Regions from separate parts of the Homo sapiens genome. Here all the other regions are linked to region 3. Evidence: promoter capture Hi-C in 16 types of primary human blood cells and fetal thymus (Javierre and others, 2016). All regions are on one chromosome and are shown on one strand. The core of a region is centred on a gene start or on the middle of the fragment in contact, and the rest is flanking DNA. Distances in the headings are between cores, read along the strand shown.

Region 1 (4,782 bases), core at 1,030-3,529, 84 kb after region 3:
AATGTAGGTAGAGCTCATATCTATCTTAAATTTTCTTTTTCTTCCTTTTTTTTTTTTTTTTGAGATGGAGTCTTTCTCAGTCACCCAGGCTGGAATGCAGTGATCTCAGCTCACTGCAACCTCTGCCTCATTCTCCTGCCTCAGCCTCCCGAGTAGCTGGGATTACAGGCATGCACCATCACGCCCTGCTAATTTCTGTATTTTTAGTGGAGATGGGGTTTCTCCATGTTGGCCAGGCTGGTCTTGAACTCCTGACCTCAAGTGATCCACCTGCCTTGGCCTCCCAAAGTGCTGGGATTACAGGCATGAGCCACCATGCCCAGCCTATCTTAATTTTTTATATTAAAAGTGTTTTGGTCTTTATTTCGAAGTTTGGTGATGTTTTTGTGACAAGAAATATGCCACAGGAACTTACCTCTTTTTTGTTTTTTTTTAGACAGGTTCTTCCTCTTACACCCAGGCTTCAGTGCAGTAGCGCAATCATGGCTCACTGCAGCCTTGACCTCCCAGGCTCAAGCAATCCTCCCACCTCAGCCTCTGAAGTAGCTGGTGCTATAGGTGTGCACCATCATGCCTGGCTAATTTTTTGTAGAGCTGGGGTTTCACTATGTTGCCCAGGCTGGTCTTCAACTCCTGGGCTCAAGTGATCTTACAGCCTCAGCCTCCCAAAGTGTTGGGATTACAGGCATGAGCCAAAGTGCCCAGCCTTAACTCTTGTTTATACCAATTAGCCTGTGGTAAAATTGGTTTTGTTATACATCATTTCACTTAAAGTCACAGTTTCCAAGAAACTATCACTGATGTTAAGTGAGGACTTACTGTACTTCACTAAAAAACAAAACAGGCCGGGTGCGGTGGCTTACGCCTGTAATCTCAGCACTTTGGGAGGCAGAGGCGGGCGGATCACAAGGTCAGGAGATTGAGACCAGCCTGGCTAACACGGTGAAACCCCGTCTCTACTAAGAATACAAAAAAAATTAGCCGGGCATGGTGGTGGGCGCCTGTAGTCCCAGCTACTCAGGAGGCTGAGGCAGGAGAATGGCGTGAAGCTGGGAGGCAGAGCTTGCAGTGAGCCGAGATCATGCCACTGCACTCCAGCCTGGGCGACAGAGCGAGACTCCATCTCAAAAAAAAAAACAAACAAATCTTTGGTCAGGAGTTTGAGACCAGCCTGGCCAACATGGTGAAACCCCATGTCTACTATAAAAATACAAAAAAATAGCCGGGTGTGGTGGTGGGCGCCTGTAATTCCAGCTACTTGGGAGGCTGAGGCAGGAGAATCTATTGAACCTAGGAAGTGGTGGTTGCAGTGAGCTGAGGTTGTGCCATTGCACTCCACCCTGATCAACAAGAGCAAAACTCCATTTCAAAAAAAAAAAAAACAACGGTGCTTTTAAGCTTTTAAAAAATCACCACCAACAACAAACCACAACCCCCACCACCCCACAATATTTTGGTCAATTTTAAGTTTAAATCAATTTAGAATAAAAGACATAATAATGTTCCCAGAAAGCCTCTGCCTATAGTATGGGCATAGGACCTCTTTCTCAAATACTCAGCTCTCAGTATTCACAACTACAGTTATCTTCACGCCTTGTTTGCAAATTAGCTCTTAGCTCAGAGCTAATAACTTTTACTTGAGGGAATCAAGTCAGTCTTAGATGTCTTCTCTCCCTTGACTTTAGTCACCAAGTGCAATTTTTTTTTTTTTTAATAGAAAGGGTCTCACTCTGTCACCCAGGTTGGAGTGCAGTGGGGCAGTCACAGCTCACTGTAGCCTCAATTTCCTGGCCTCAGGTGATCCTCCTACCTCAGCCTCCCGGGTAGCTGGGACTACAGGTGTGTGCCACCACACACAGCGAATTGTTTTGTATTTTTTGTAGAGACAGAGTTTTGCCATGTTGCCCAGGCTGGTCTCGAACTCCTGAGTTCAAGCGATCTTCCAGTCCTGGACTCCCAAAGTGTTGGGATTACAGGTGTAAGCCACCATGCCTGCCGCATAGTTTTTGAAGCATACAACAATCTTTTGTCTTGGTTCTGTCAAATACAGAGTTTTGATAGTAGGAAGACAGGTTTATTGAACACTTTATTCATGAAGCAATTCAAGTAATAAATTCAAACTTTTGTCTGCTATTTGCCTTTTTTAAAAAATTAGCATATCTTTTGGCAGTTTGCATTAAAAATAGAGGCTGTACCTATGAGGATAACCTTAAAAAATAAGTTGCAAAAAACAAGATCAATTTATTGCCAATCTTTCCCAAGGTGTTTTAATTTTTATTATTCTTTTTGGTCTTTGCCCCTCTGACAATTCCATGGTAGGTAGGTTTAGAAAACGACTGATAATTCACTCTGCCTCTTCCTACGTAACCCATATTTATCAGTCTGTTGCAGGTGGCTCCATTTTGGTTCAAAAGGCACTGAACAATTTTGGGGAGAGGAGATACAAACTTCCTCATAACCATTGTATAGCTACCTATGCCTAAGAAAAATGTTAGGGAAAGGTCTATTGTTCCCCATCTACCCCTTTTCCTAATTTGAAAACAAGGAGCAGTAGGGGAGGGAAGGGGTCCCACATGGAGGTCTATGTTCCTGACAAGGGTTAATTTACTAGCGTGCAAGCCTCGTCCAGAGTCATTGCAGCCAATGGGGGTTCACTCTGATGAGGTAATGCTTTCAGCCCATGTTTCATTGGTTTCCCTTCTCATTACTTGGCGTTCTCTCAGAGGCTGGGAAGTGGAGAGGGCTAGTTTTAGGGCTAATAGGAGCTTTTTCCTCGTGACAGGTACAGGTGGTGCTTACAGAAATGCTTGGAGCCACGGGGGGAAATCTGTTTCCTCTTCTCAGATGTCCTGCATCTTGAACCAGTTCTTCTACCTGGGGCTGTAAGGGCATCTCCTAGTCTGGCCCTTATCCCCATTCGTCTGTCAGCTCCCAGGGTTCTCAGGAATGAGAACGAGTGAGAGGAAGTTGACTTATACCCTGAGGAGCCGGAGCTGAAAGGAAAGCCTGCCAGTCCTCGGATGAATACATCCCATTACGTTTGTCAGCCTAGGACCTTTGAATCCAGCAGCCCTTCGCTTCTGAACCCTCTTTGGCCGGGGAGCAGTAGCGCTGGCTGTGAGTCAGGCTGACTGCCTCTATACCTCCCCTACAAAGCTTGAGGGGTGATAAGGAAAACTGGGGCTTCCTTCCAGTCATCTTTCCTCTGTCCATGGTCTTTTATTTTGCTTACCTCCATTGTGGGAAATTGTGTTGTCTGCACTGTAGTGGCCCATATAGGTCCTTTGACAAGCAAACAACTGTTTACTATGTCTCTGAAAGAACTTGGAGAGCCCTCGGCCCTGCTTTTTTTTCTCTCTCTCTTTTTGCCCTGCTTTTACATCAAGATCTGTATCAACTTCCTGGCAAGGAGGGAGAAAGCACCAGATTCTAGGCTGTGTGTAAACAGGGAAACTGAGGCTGGGAGGATGAAGTAATTGTGGATGAAGTGGGGATAATAGACAAGTGCTTGTCTCTGACAACCAGCCTGATTTTTGGCCGTAAACTCATGCTTCTTTTTACACGTTTGAGAATTAGACAACAAAGAAGCAACAGGGTATATTCAGTATGGTTGAACTCTCTGAAGTTTTTCAGGTCTGACTTATAAAGAAGAAGTGGACATTGTACACATGAATAGGACTTTACAACCACGTGGGGGAAAATTAGTAGAGGCTTCTAAGAGAGAACTGAAGCAGAACAGATTCTGTGGGCTCTGAGAGCTGAGGGAGACAGCATTGCAGAGGTGAATGGGCTGCCTGGGTTGCTCTGTAGAGTAGATGATCAAACCAATTTGAAACAAAATTTAGCTGGAAGCATCAGTCCTGCTTTTCATGGTTGAACTTCACAGAAGGAGATTCTGGGAGTCGAAGGGAATAACATTTTATGCTATTTTTCTGTGTAATTCTGGGAAAGGAGCTCTTTTTCTGTGACCCAGTTTAGCTGTCTAAAAATAAAAAAAATCACCCTGAATTCAAAGGAAGAATCTGTAAGTGAAAGGCTCACTCTAAGTGTTTAAAAGGTTGGCTACGGCATTTAAGATTCTGATGATATTGTCTGAGATATCCTGAAACTAACCCCATTCAGGTCTCCACCCACAGGATAAAGGTCTTCTTTCCATCCTGGTCTCGCTCTACCCCTCCCACCCCCAACTGACAGGGATCTGACCCTCCCTAGAACAGATTTATCACAGAAAACAAGAAAGACCAGGAAGAAAGGGCATAGCAAAAAGTAGGAGGCTCCCACATCAACGTGGAATCATAATATGTGTTTACAGGATGATCAGTTAATACATTTGAGAAAGTGCTTTGTCAGCTGTTACCATGATAACAAAATGGATTATGCTCCTCAAAAGAATAGAAACTGTTTTACTCATTGTGTTCTACCCCAGTGCCTGGCACTTTTTTTGGGGTGATTTTTTATTGGATTTTTTTTTTTTTTTTTAGAGATGGGGTCTCACTATGTTGCCCAGGCTGGTCTTCAATTGCTGGACTCAAGCGATTCTCCTGGCCAAAGTGTTGGGATTACAGGCCAGGCTTGAGCCACTGTGTCCAGCTGGTGGAAAATTTTAATTATATGAAGGTAGAAAGGCTAGTTTAATGTGACTCCATATATCCATCCCAGCTTCAGACTATTATCAACCCATCACATAGGTGCTTAATGTTTTGGGGAGAAAAGAAGGGAGTTTGGCAGTTTCTTAGACATAATTTACCCCATCTTTCTTTCTTGGGAACATTATGATCAATA
Region 2 (4,685 bases), core at 1,011-3,510, 100 kb after region 3:
ATAGTATTGGCCTACATTATTGTCATACACTGAATTCTGAGTTATCAGGCCAAATATGTGGACTTGGCAAAGATGAGACTTACTGTTAATTGTTCCAGCTCTCCAAACTGGATGTGACTGGCACCAGTGGCTATATGAGTGAATATAGAAGCTGAAATCCACATTATGTTAACTTTGGTTCTATTCCACCAAAATATTTTATTCCAGAGATATGTAAGATGAAGCTTTTCCAGGGCAGAGATCATGATCATATCGCCTAGCACAGTGCCTGACCCATAATAGCTGCCCAAGAAATATGTGTTGAATAAATAAATGGCACAAAGGTTATTCTGGGTTGCTAAGATCAGAACAGTATTTGCCATTATTTTGGAGGTTGGCGTGGGATTTGTACACCCTGGAACAGTTTCTTCTCTTTGCAGCTAGTGATATTTTTCTGTTTATGAAAAACACACATTCTTGCACACTGGCACAATGGTCCTGGGCAAAGTGGCACAGAAAGATTTCCACTCCATTTCTTGGAAGAGCCAGCAATACATCTCTCTAATGGTGAGTTGCTTCTCTTTTACCAGAGGATTTAAATTTGATGTGTTTTTAGTTCTTCCTTTCTTCCCAGTAGAGGAGACTACCTCAAGGAGAAAATTCATTAGCTGAGTTTGACTGAATTTGATAGCATTTTACTGCTCTGTGAGAATCAAGAGTAGTCACAATCTCATCTCCATATGCACTTGTTTTTCCCTGCACACAAGACTGCATGTAATGATGGCTTCCTATCTGTATTTACAGTCATGTCTTGTTCTACAAATGGGCAGTGTAAATATGCTTCTAATTGGGGAAGAGATGTGCTTGTATTTACTGTAACTTACAAGGCTCAGAAGATCTTAAAACCAGCACCGAGAGTTTGGGGGAATTCTTAGTGGTTCTTGGTTTTCATTTACAAATAGATAGACAAAGATTTGGCAATTTCTGTCAAGAAAGGTGTTCACACTGGGCCTCATTCCTGGCAATAAATCCAGATATGAAAGCAAGACATTTTCAGGTTGTTCTCTAGGCCTCTGAATGCAGTATAGGAGAGGGAACTGAAAAAATTGTATATGGCTAATAAAGCACTTTTATGCATACCAATTCATTTAAGTCTGTTTCCCTATTTGACTAATGGGGAATCTAAGGTACAACTAAGTTAAGTAACTTGACCAGAGTCAAAAGGCTAGTAACAGGGCTAGAACTGGAACTTGGAATGTTTGTTTTATCTATTTTACTTTTAAGTGATAGAATTGGTGGGGATAGAATATATCTTTTTGGCTTTTCTGGCTAGGGTGGCTCGTTTCTTATTAACATCGTATTAAGAAAGACAAGGCAGCCTTGACTGAACTCAAGTTAATCTATATCCCAGTACTCAAACAGCCTTGCTCAGGGAGATCAGTAACGGTAAGGAAAACACCTGATTAAAAGTTTCCTTACTGATGGTGCAAGGGAAGGGCTCAACATCCTGCTACATCTGGAAGAGATGAATTCAGTCAAACTCATGTAAAGGATGGAAGAACCCATTTGCATTCTCTGTGAATAATGAGGGCATTATTAGCCATCTGTAAAGTAACTGCAGAGACAGCTACTTCCTGACTTCAAGTCTCATTCCAGTGACACTGGTGACCTTGGGGAGGCAGATATGCTGAGGTCCTCCCTGGCATCTAGAATGCAGTCCAGGTTGTAGCAAAGATATATTCCTTCCACAGTGATGTGACTCATGACCTTACTTCTGAGAGGCATAATGCCTCTGTTCAGATAAGCTGGGATAGAATGCTTGTTTTCCAGGCTTAAAAGTCATCTTGCAAATAAATAACAATTTTATCTCAAGTAGTAATTTTCCTGGCATGGCCTCATCTCCAGAAGGAGTCTTGGAAACACAAAGGATTGGTCTATACCAGTCACTTCTCATCCTGGCCAAATAGCTATTGCAAATGCTATTTTTGACTCTATTGATATATTGAAATGTGACGTTTCCATCTACAGGTAAAGAATTTGTAGGAAAAAAAGAAGAAAAAGTGATGTAATTTTGAAGTATTCTTTTAGTGAGGTATTCTCTCATCTCTGTAACAAACAGAATTGCTGTTCTTTGCTGTAGGGGCTGTCCTGTGCCGTAAAGGATGTTTACCAGCATCCTTGACCTTCTCCCACCAGCCAATAGCACCTCTCCAGTGGTGACAATCAAAAATGTCTGTATTCAGCAGATCCTGAATTCAGAAGGAAAAAAAAAGTTTAAAAAAAAACCAAAAATGTCTGCACACATGGTCCCCCAAAATTGTCGCAGTTGAGAACCACTGTTTTAACTGAAGCAACAAGATTATTATAAAAGAAACCATCTTCTTCCCTCCATCCACCAAAAAACTAAAGTAATTTCTGAGATAGACCCCCTCTAGAAATTTCAGAGGATTTAGACAAAGCAGGTAGATTAAATACTCAGTTATTTAGTTATAAAAGGCCAAACCAGAATTATTGAGGACAATGTCTTTGGAGACTGTTGCTGGTGAGCTGTGATTCTTACCACAGGTGCCTGCCTGCCTTTTACTTCAAGTCGAGGGAGTGGGCCTTCAATGGATCTGCTCAGAGCACTTGACTTGTACCTCCTGCAGTCTGAGGGGCACCGTGGGCCTGTGTCTGACTCCCACAGGCTGGCGGCTGTTTTGGCAGCAGAGTAGAGGAATGTTGAATCTGCACTGGGATTAGCCTGTACTCCCAAGTTTGTTCGGGCAAGAGGTGCCTGAGAGCTTCCTGTGGACCAGGTGTGGGCCATACAGAGCTGTCACTAGGCTAACACAGCAGCACCATGAGAAAAAAGCTCTCCTTCGTCCAGACGCTTTGCTTCCATCTATTGGGAAGCAGTCGTTGTAATTTAGTTTGGACAAAACACTTTACTGCCACCTGCTGGAAAAACATTAAAATAAATAACATACAGAACTACAGTGAGAATGATGTGAATGGCACCCCCTAGGGTACGGAGTGCACAACCTTGTCCCACAATAAAGGGTCACTTGCAAATGGACGAGTGTGAGAGTCATCTCAGATCCTATCTGACAGGGCCTTTACAGAGATGCCCAGGTTTCAACAGACAAGTAGTTGGAGGTGCGTGGAAAGAAGTAAATAACTGCCAAAATAGCTTTACGCTTAGACCAATAGAATTATGGGGGAGAAACCACCAGAGAAGGGGGATGGTGGTAGTCTCTGAGGTATCCATGAAAAAATAAGTCAGCTTTAAGCATCTACCATGCCCAGGGAATGTCAAACCATCATACAAAGTTAACAACTTTCCTGCTCCTTTTTCTCCCTGCCTTCCCCAGATTTGGTTATGATTAGTTAAGCCGGGAGGAGAAAGACTAGGCAGGTTAAAGATGACTATGGTCCCCTCTTTAGGGCAAGCAATGAGACAACTGTTCCCAGCTGAAAAAGAGGAAAACATTTCACTCTTTGTGACTCAATGACAACAGGACTCTATTCCTAAGGAGACCACAGAACCCCTAAAAACTCATGGAACCTGCCTGAGTTTTCAATTAGGTACATGACAGATCTACTCCCACTGCACAAATTGAAAGGCATGGCAAAAGATACAAAATAAAAGTGTTTGTTTTGAATTATAGCCCATGTGGCCCCTATGTTGAACATACTGTTTTTATATTATCAAGTAGGATCTAGAGAATATATCTTCCAAGAATATGTTCTGCAGTTTTTGAGGGGGAAAATGGTCATTGATCAATTCATTTGTTTTTTGAGATCCCATACTTTGTGGGTAGGGTATAAAAACGCAAGGGAGGCCGGGCACGGTGGCTCACGCCTGTAATCACAGCACTTTGGGAGGCTGAGGTGGGAGGATCACTTGAGGCCAGGAGTTCAAGAGAGGCCTGGGCAACATAGGGAAACCCATCTCTAAAAAAATTTTAAAATTAGCCAGGCATGGTGGCATGTCCCTGTAGTCCCAGCTACTCAGGAGACTAGGGTAGGAATGCTGCTGGAGGCCAGGAAGTTGAGGCTGTATTGAGCCATAATCCAGACACTGGACCCCAGCCTGAGTGACAGAGCAAGACCTTGTCTCACCAAAAAAAAAAAAAAAAAAAAAAAAAAAAAAAAGGCAAGGGAATCCTTCCCTCTGGGAGCTTACATCTTAGGTTTCATATTCAGAGCAAAGTATTTATTACAGTCAGTTATGTCAACAAGAGCCTGTGTTGCATATGTGGGGCAGGCGGAGGAGGTTTTTAACTCTCTTCGGATTTACTCTCAAGACTTTTACGCACTTATGATAAAGCTTTTGAAGCAATCATATTGCTCCTGTTCTCCAAGCATGGAATCACAGGTAAAGCTTTCATTTAAGATATTTAAAGAGAGATACAAGGCTAAATGCACAGACTGCATCTTCACTGGGCTGCTCTGAAATCAGGCTCTGTTGATCCTGTTTGGCAGATTTGGAAACTTTTATTTCACTTCGCTCAAGTTTAAATAGGCTCTGAGAAATTAATTCGGATAAAACAATTCAACCCAGTGAACAGTGTCCGATTTGTAAACCATGATATGAATTTATTGACAAAAACTGTACAGCTAGTATAACTAGTCCTAGTTATATGCCTTGGACAATCCCTTCTTATTGGGTATGTAGATTTATTTGAGAGACTCCCTGAATGATGGAAAGGCTACTAGCTGAG
Region 3 (4,706 bases), core at 1,245-3,744:
AAAGCTCAGAGGTGCTTGGTCATGACTTGCTCGTGATCAACCAACAGTTAATAGCAGAGCTAGAACTAAGCCCCAGATTCTTACCTGCAGTTCAGTCTTCTTTCTACACTGCTGTGCCTTCTCTTATATATCTACTTTCTGTGTCTCATTAATATTGTCTTAATATTCACTTGATCCTTTTTTCATCTCCATGAAAGGAGAAAAAAATTATTCTTAGCTTTTTATTTGTGCAGTAAGAGAAGTAGATGAAATAATATATGACTATACATTGTAAACAGCAAATAACTACTGTGTGATAAACTGATGATTGGTGCTCTTTACAACTTTGATACCTGGGGCCAGCACTCCTCCTCTGATAGTAGAATATAGTGGCTTGACCTGTGGGCTCTGGAGTCAGGCTGCCTCTGAATTGGAATTCAGGCTGTGTGCCTTTCAGTGAGTACTTAACCTCTTTAGATTTCAATTTCTTCATCTGTGAAATGGAGATAATAAGGCCGGGGGCGGTGGCTCACACTTGTAATCCCAGTACTTTGGGAGGCCAAGGAAGGTGGATCCCCTGAGGCTAGGAGTTCGAGACTAGCCTGACCAACATGGTGAAACCCTATCTCTACTAAAAATACAAAAATTAGCTGGGCATGATGGCGCACGCCTGTAATCCCAGCTATTCTGGAGGCTGAGACAGGGGAATTGCTTGAACCTGGAAGGTGGAAGTTGCAGTGAGCTGAGATTGCTCCATTGCACTCCGGCCTGGGCAACAAGAGTGAAACTCCGACTCAAAAAAAAAAAAAATGAGATATTAATGATACCTACCTTACAGGTTTATTGAGAGGATTAAGTGAGTTAGTATAGAAATACAGTGTTTGGCCCATTGTAAACAGGCAAATATTAACTGCTGTTGCTATTTTATTATCTGATGAGGGTTGTTATCTTTGCTACTGTTTTCATTAAGAACTGGTTAGTTCTTCAAGAGAACGTGTTAGGTTATCATATGTTCCACATGAAGGTTTGATTTTCTTTGTTTTTTCTTGGCCACCTGCAGACCCATGGACTTAACTAGCCTGAAGAGAAATCTCTCTAAGGGTCGGATTCGCACCATGGCCCAATTCCTGCGAGACCTGATGCTGATGTTCCAAAATGCTGTAATGTACAATGACTCTGATCATCATGTATACCATATGGCTGTGGAGATGCGGCAAGAAGTCCTGGAGCAGATTCAGGTACTGTATGCAGATACCTGTAGCCTCTGGAATCTTGATTTCAGAACGCCTATGAGAATAAAGGTGATTTCGAGGTGACTGTGTTCTCAGAGTTTATTTTTAAAGGTGATTAAGGCCCTGAAGGATTGATAATGTGCCTGCTGGTTTGGAAAACCCTGAGCCTCAGTAAGTCCAGCTCTGATAGTGAAGTAGTCTAGGAATGCAGGCAGCAGTGAAGAGCTCTCAAGAGAGCTGAGGATAGACAAGTAATGGGAATTCCCGCTTCCAGAGCCTCAAGTCAAGGGCTAAACTCCAAAGAGGCTGGAGTCACTGTGTATTTTTTGGTTGCTTCATCTGTTGTTATTAATGTACGTTCACACTTTCCCATCTTTAGGGGATAAGATATAGTAGCTAGAAGACATTTGTGGGTTTCTTTTCTGGGTAGCATCATACTTTAAAGAAAAAAGTATAGTTGAGTCTATTTGCCAAAAAAATAAACTTGCAATACTTTAGTGTTTAAGGTTCATAATAGCTTGCTATGTGTTCCTTAACCCTTTAGGTACTGAATATCTGGTTAGACAAAAGAAAAGGCTCAAGTAGTCTGGAAGGAGAACCAGCTAACCCAGTGGATGATGGAAAACCTGTTTTCTAACCTGGAGCTGCTATCCTGACTTTTTCTAGAGTTTGAATCTCTCCCGGAACTCTGACCTAGAGAGGATCCTGGTACTTCTTTGCCATGTCCTCATTTTCTTTTCCAACAAGAATAATACCTTAACTCACAACCAACGAGTCAAAGATGCATGTGGACATAATATAAAGAAAAAAAGGGGAAGCTGAGGTTTGGATTTATGCCATAAATGTTGCCCACATCTTTGTTCCATCGGCTTGATTTAAAGACAATTCCATTAGATCTTTTCTAAGCCTTTTACTCTATAAATAAATGTATTTACACAATAGGAATATTGCTTTTTAATGACTAGATAAGCTGGGCATAGAGGGCACAGCATCATCTGGTGAAACGAAGGTATCTGACACGGGTCATTTACATATACCGCCTGGAAAGGAATGGTTGGGGGAGGGGTTCTTATCATTTATAGAGTAGGGATAATTGAAGCATCCTTCAAACGGGAAGAAGGATGAAATAAGATAAATTATGAGTAAAATGTCAGAAAACATCTAGTGCTCTAAGATTCACAAGGAGAATAAAAGTGACTGGCTGGCTCCCTTTGGTTAAAACGAACTGGCCAGAAGCTGCAAGGTTCCTTGCTGGGATTGGCTCTCTGCAGCCACCGTCCCCACGCTGGGGCTTCAGGTCTCCTAGCAACAAGTTGTACCATATGAGGACGGCCGCTGAGGTGAGTACTTAGAGAGGGTCAAATTCAGAATTTGCAGGTGCAACCCGGAAAGTCCCCGCGGACCTAGAGGCCCTGCTTTTCAATTAGCCTGACCCTATGCACAGAGAGGTCCCTGCGGGACAGGGTCGCTTCACAGAGGCAGCTGGCCGAGGCCGCTCACCCGCCGCTGTAATGGTGTGTGGTTGCCCACCAGCCACCGTCCCCTCGAGCCCCCACCACCCGCTCTACCGCCCCCTCGAGCCCCCACCACCCGCCCCACCGCCCTCTGCTGCCTGGGGCTGTTGCTGGTTCCAGGCCTTCGGGTCGCCCCTTGGCCTCTGGTTATGTGAGCCCATAGTCCTTCCTGCCTTGGTGACATCGTATACGAAAAGCCGGGGCTCGATTTGGACATAGTAGGAATCCTATTATTGAGACCCTGTATATAGAAAAACATGGCAGTTTCTACCTTCATCAGTTAATAAAATCAAGTACCTACTATTGCTATTCTTAATCATAATTACATTGAATTTGCGATGGGGGTGGGGGGAAATGCATGTCATTGCAGTTGATACCTGTTAAGAAACTCTTAATTTGTGCCCTGAAAAGCCATAATGGAGATATCAATGCCTCCACCTCAGATATATGTAGAAAAAACTCTGGCCATTATCAAACCAGATATTGTTGACAAAGAGGAGGAGATACAAGATATTATTCTTAGATCCGGATTCACCATTGTTCAGGTAACTTCTGGGTATGATGATTCATGCTTTTTTCCTCTCTGCCCTTAAAAAAAAAATGCTTATGTAAATGTGCCTACCCATTTAAACCCTTAGTGTTCAGCATTAAATTTAAGTTTATTCTTCTAAGTATAAAAGTTATATGTGATAGTTTTTAAAAGGATGTAAAATGAGAAATAAAATGGACTTTTCCTTCACCTGTCCTCTTTTACCCCAAGTCCCAGGCTCCAGAGAGAGGCAACCACTTAACACTTTCTGTTCTTCCAGGAGTTTTCTATGCATTTATAAACATTTTCCCCCCATAAAACAGAACAGTCCCTTTCCCTTGACCCCTTTACAGAGTCCCTCAGATAGGATTCCAGATCATTGCATCTGAATTGATCTCACTCTTCCTAATTTCTGTGTAATATTTCCCTGTGTATTAGAACTACAATTTATTTACTTGATCTTCTATTGATGGAATTTTAGGCTATTGGTACTTTTTTCAGTTATGGCATAACATTTAATGTTTTAAGCCTTATGTTCTGCAATTAGTAAACATTGTCATTCTAGGGGTTTGAAAGTGAATATAAATAGCATTGTTAAGGATAAATCAAATAGAATTGAATATTTTTAATCTTCCTCTTTTATAGTTTTTTTTTCTTTTTTTTGAGACAGAGTCTCCCTCTGTAGCCCAGACTGGAGTGCAGTGGTACGATCTCGGCTCACTGCAACCTCTGCCTTCCAGGTCCCGGTTCAAGCAATTCTCCTGCCTCAGCCTCCTGAGTAGCTGGGATTACAGGCATGCACCACCATGTCCAGCTAATGTTTGTATTTTTAGTAGAGACGGGGTTTTACCATGTTGGCCAGGGTGGTCTTGAACTCCTGACCTCGTGATCCACCCGCCTCGGCCTCCCAAAGTGCTGGGATTACAGGTGTGAGCCACTGCACCCCGCCTCTTTTACAGTATTCTCATTCGAACTTCCAATTTTTTATTTTCTCCCATTTATACAGTGTCATATTGCTTATTCAGTCAGTATTTTTAAAAATAAAGAGAAAATGGCGGGTACGGTGGCTCACGCCTGTAATCCCAGCACTTTGGGAGGCCGAGATGGGTGGATCATAAGGTCAGGAGTTTGAGACCAGCCTGGCCAATGTGGTGAAACCCCATCTCTATGAAAAATACAAAAATTAGCTGGGCGTGGTGGCGTGCACCTGTAGTCCCAGCTACTTGGGAAGCTGAGGCAGGAGAATCGCTTGAACTCAGGAGGCAGAGGTTGCAGTAAGCCAAGACTACGCCATTGTACTCCAGCCTGGGCAATAGAGGGAGATCTGTCTCAAAAAATAAATAAATAAATAAAGAGAAAATATCAATCTTCAGAAAAGATACGGAATTTCAGTTGAGCTTCAAAGGACAGGTGGAGTCCGAGAGTAGGGATGGCACAAGAAAGTGTTAGGAA

What was found. The method cuts DNA at HindIII sites, captures the fragments that hold promoters and counts their contacts. A CHiCAGO score of 5 or more calls a contact.
Region 1: a contact is called between a fragment that was not itself captured here and the fragment with the promoter of NME5 in region 3, in 2 of 17 cell types (erythroblasts and M1 macrophages). The highest score is 5.5, in erythroblasts.
Region 2: a contact is called between a fragment that was not itself captured here and the fragment with the promoter of NME5 in region 3, in 10 of 17 cell types (M2 macrophages, megakaryocytes, M1 macrophages and 7 more). The highest score is 10.1, in M2 macrophages.

What each region holds. Positions count from the first base shown.
Region 1 is chr5:138,053,325-138,058,106 of GRCh38, reverse strand. No RefSeq gene overlaps it. Among named protein-coding and RNA genes, the nearest start is that of FAM13B, 23 kb to the right of the region's middle. The HindIII fragment of the contact is 1,758 bases long and covers 1,401-3,158 here.
Region 2 is chr5:138,034,427-138,039,111 of GRCh38, reverse strand. It overlaps FAM13B-AS1 (FAM13B antisense RNA 1), which reads right to left. Exons shown (of 2, transcript NR_037900.2): 2 at 179-2,919. It overlaps LOC124901077 (a long non-coding RNA gene), which reads right to left. Exons shown (of 2, transcript XR_007058952.1): 2 at 4,439-4,685. It also overlaps a transcript of FAM13B not described here. Among named protein-coding and RNA genes, the nearest start is that of FAM13B, 3.7 kb to the right of the region's middle. RefSeq lists an enhancer at 2,644-2,853. The HindIII fragment of the contact is 4,067 bases long and covers 227-4,293 here.
Region 3 is chr5:138,137,216-138,141,921 of GRCh38, reverse strand. It overlaps NME5 (NME/NM23 family member 5), which reads left to right and starts at 2,494. Exons shown (of 6, transcript NM_003551.3): 1 at 2,494-2,551; 2 at 3,137-3,270. The coding sequence starts at 3,142. It overlaps BRD8 (bromodomain containing 8), which reads left to right. Exons shown (of 27, transcript NM_139199.2): 26 at 1,040-1,217; 27 at 1,756-2,152. The coding sequence ends at 1,848. The HindIII fragment of the contact is 15,003 bases long and covers 1-4,706 here.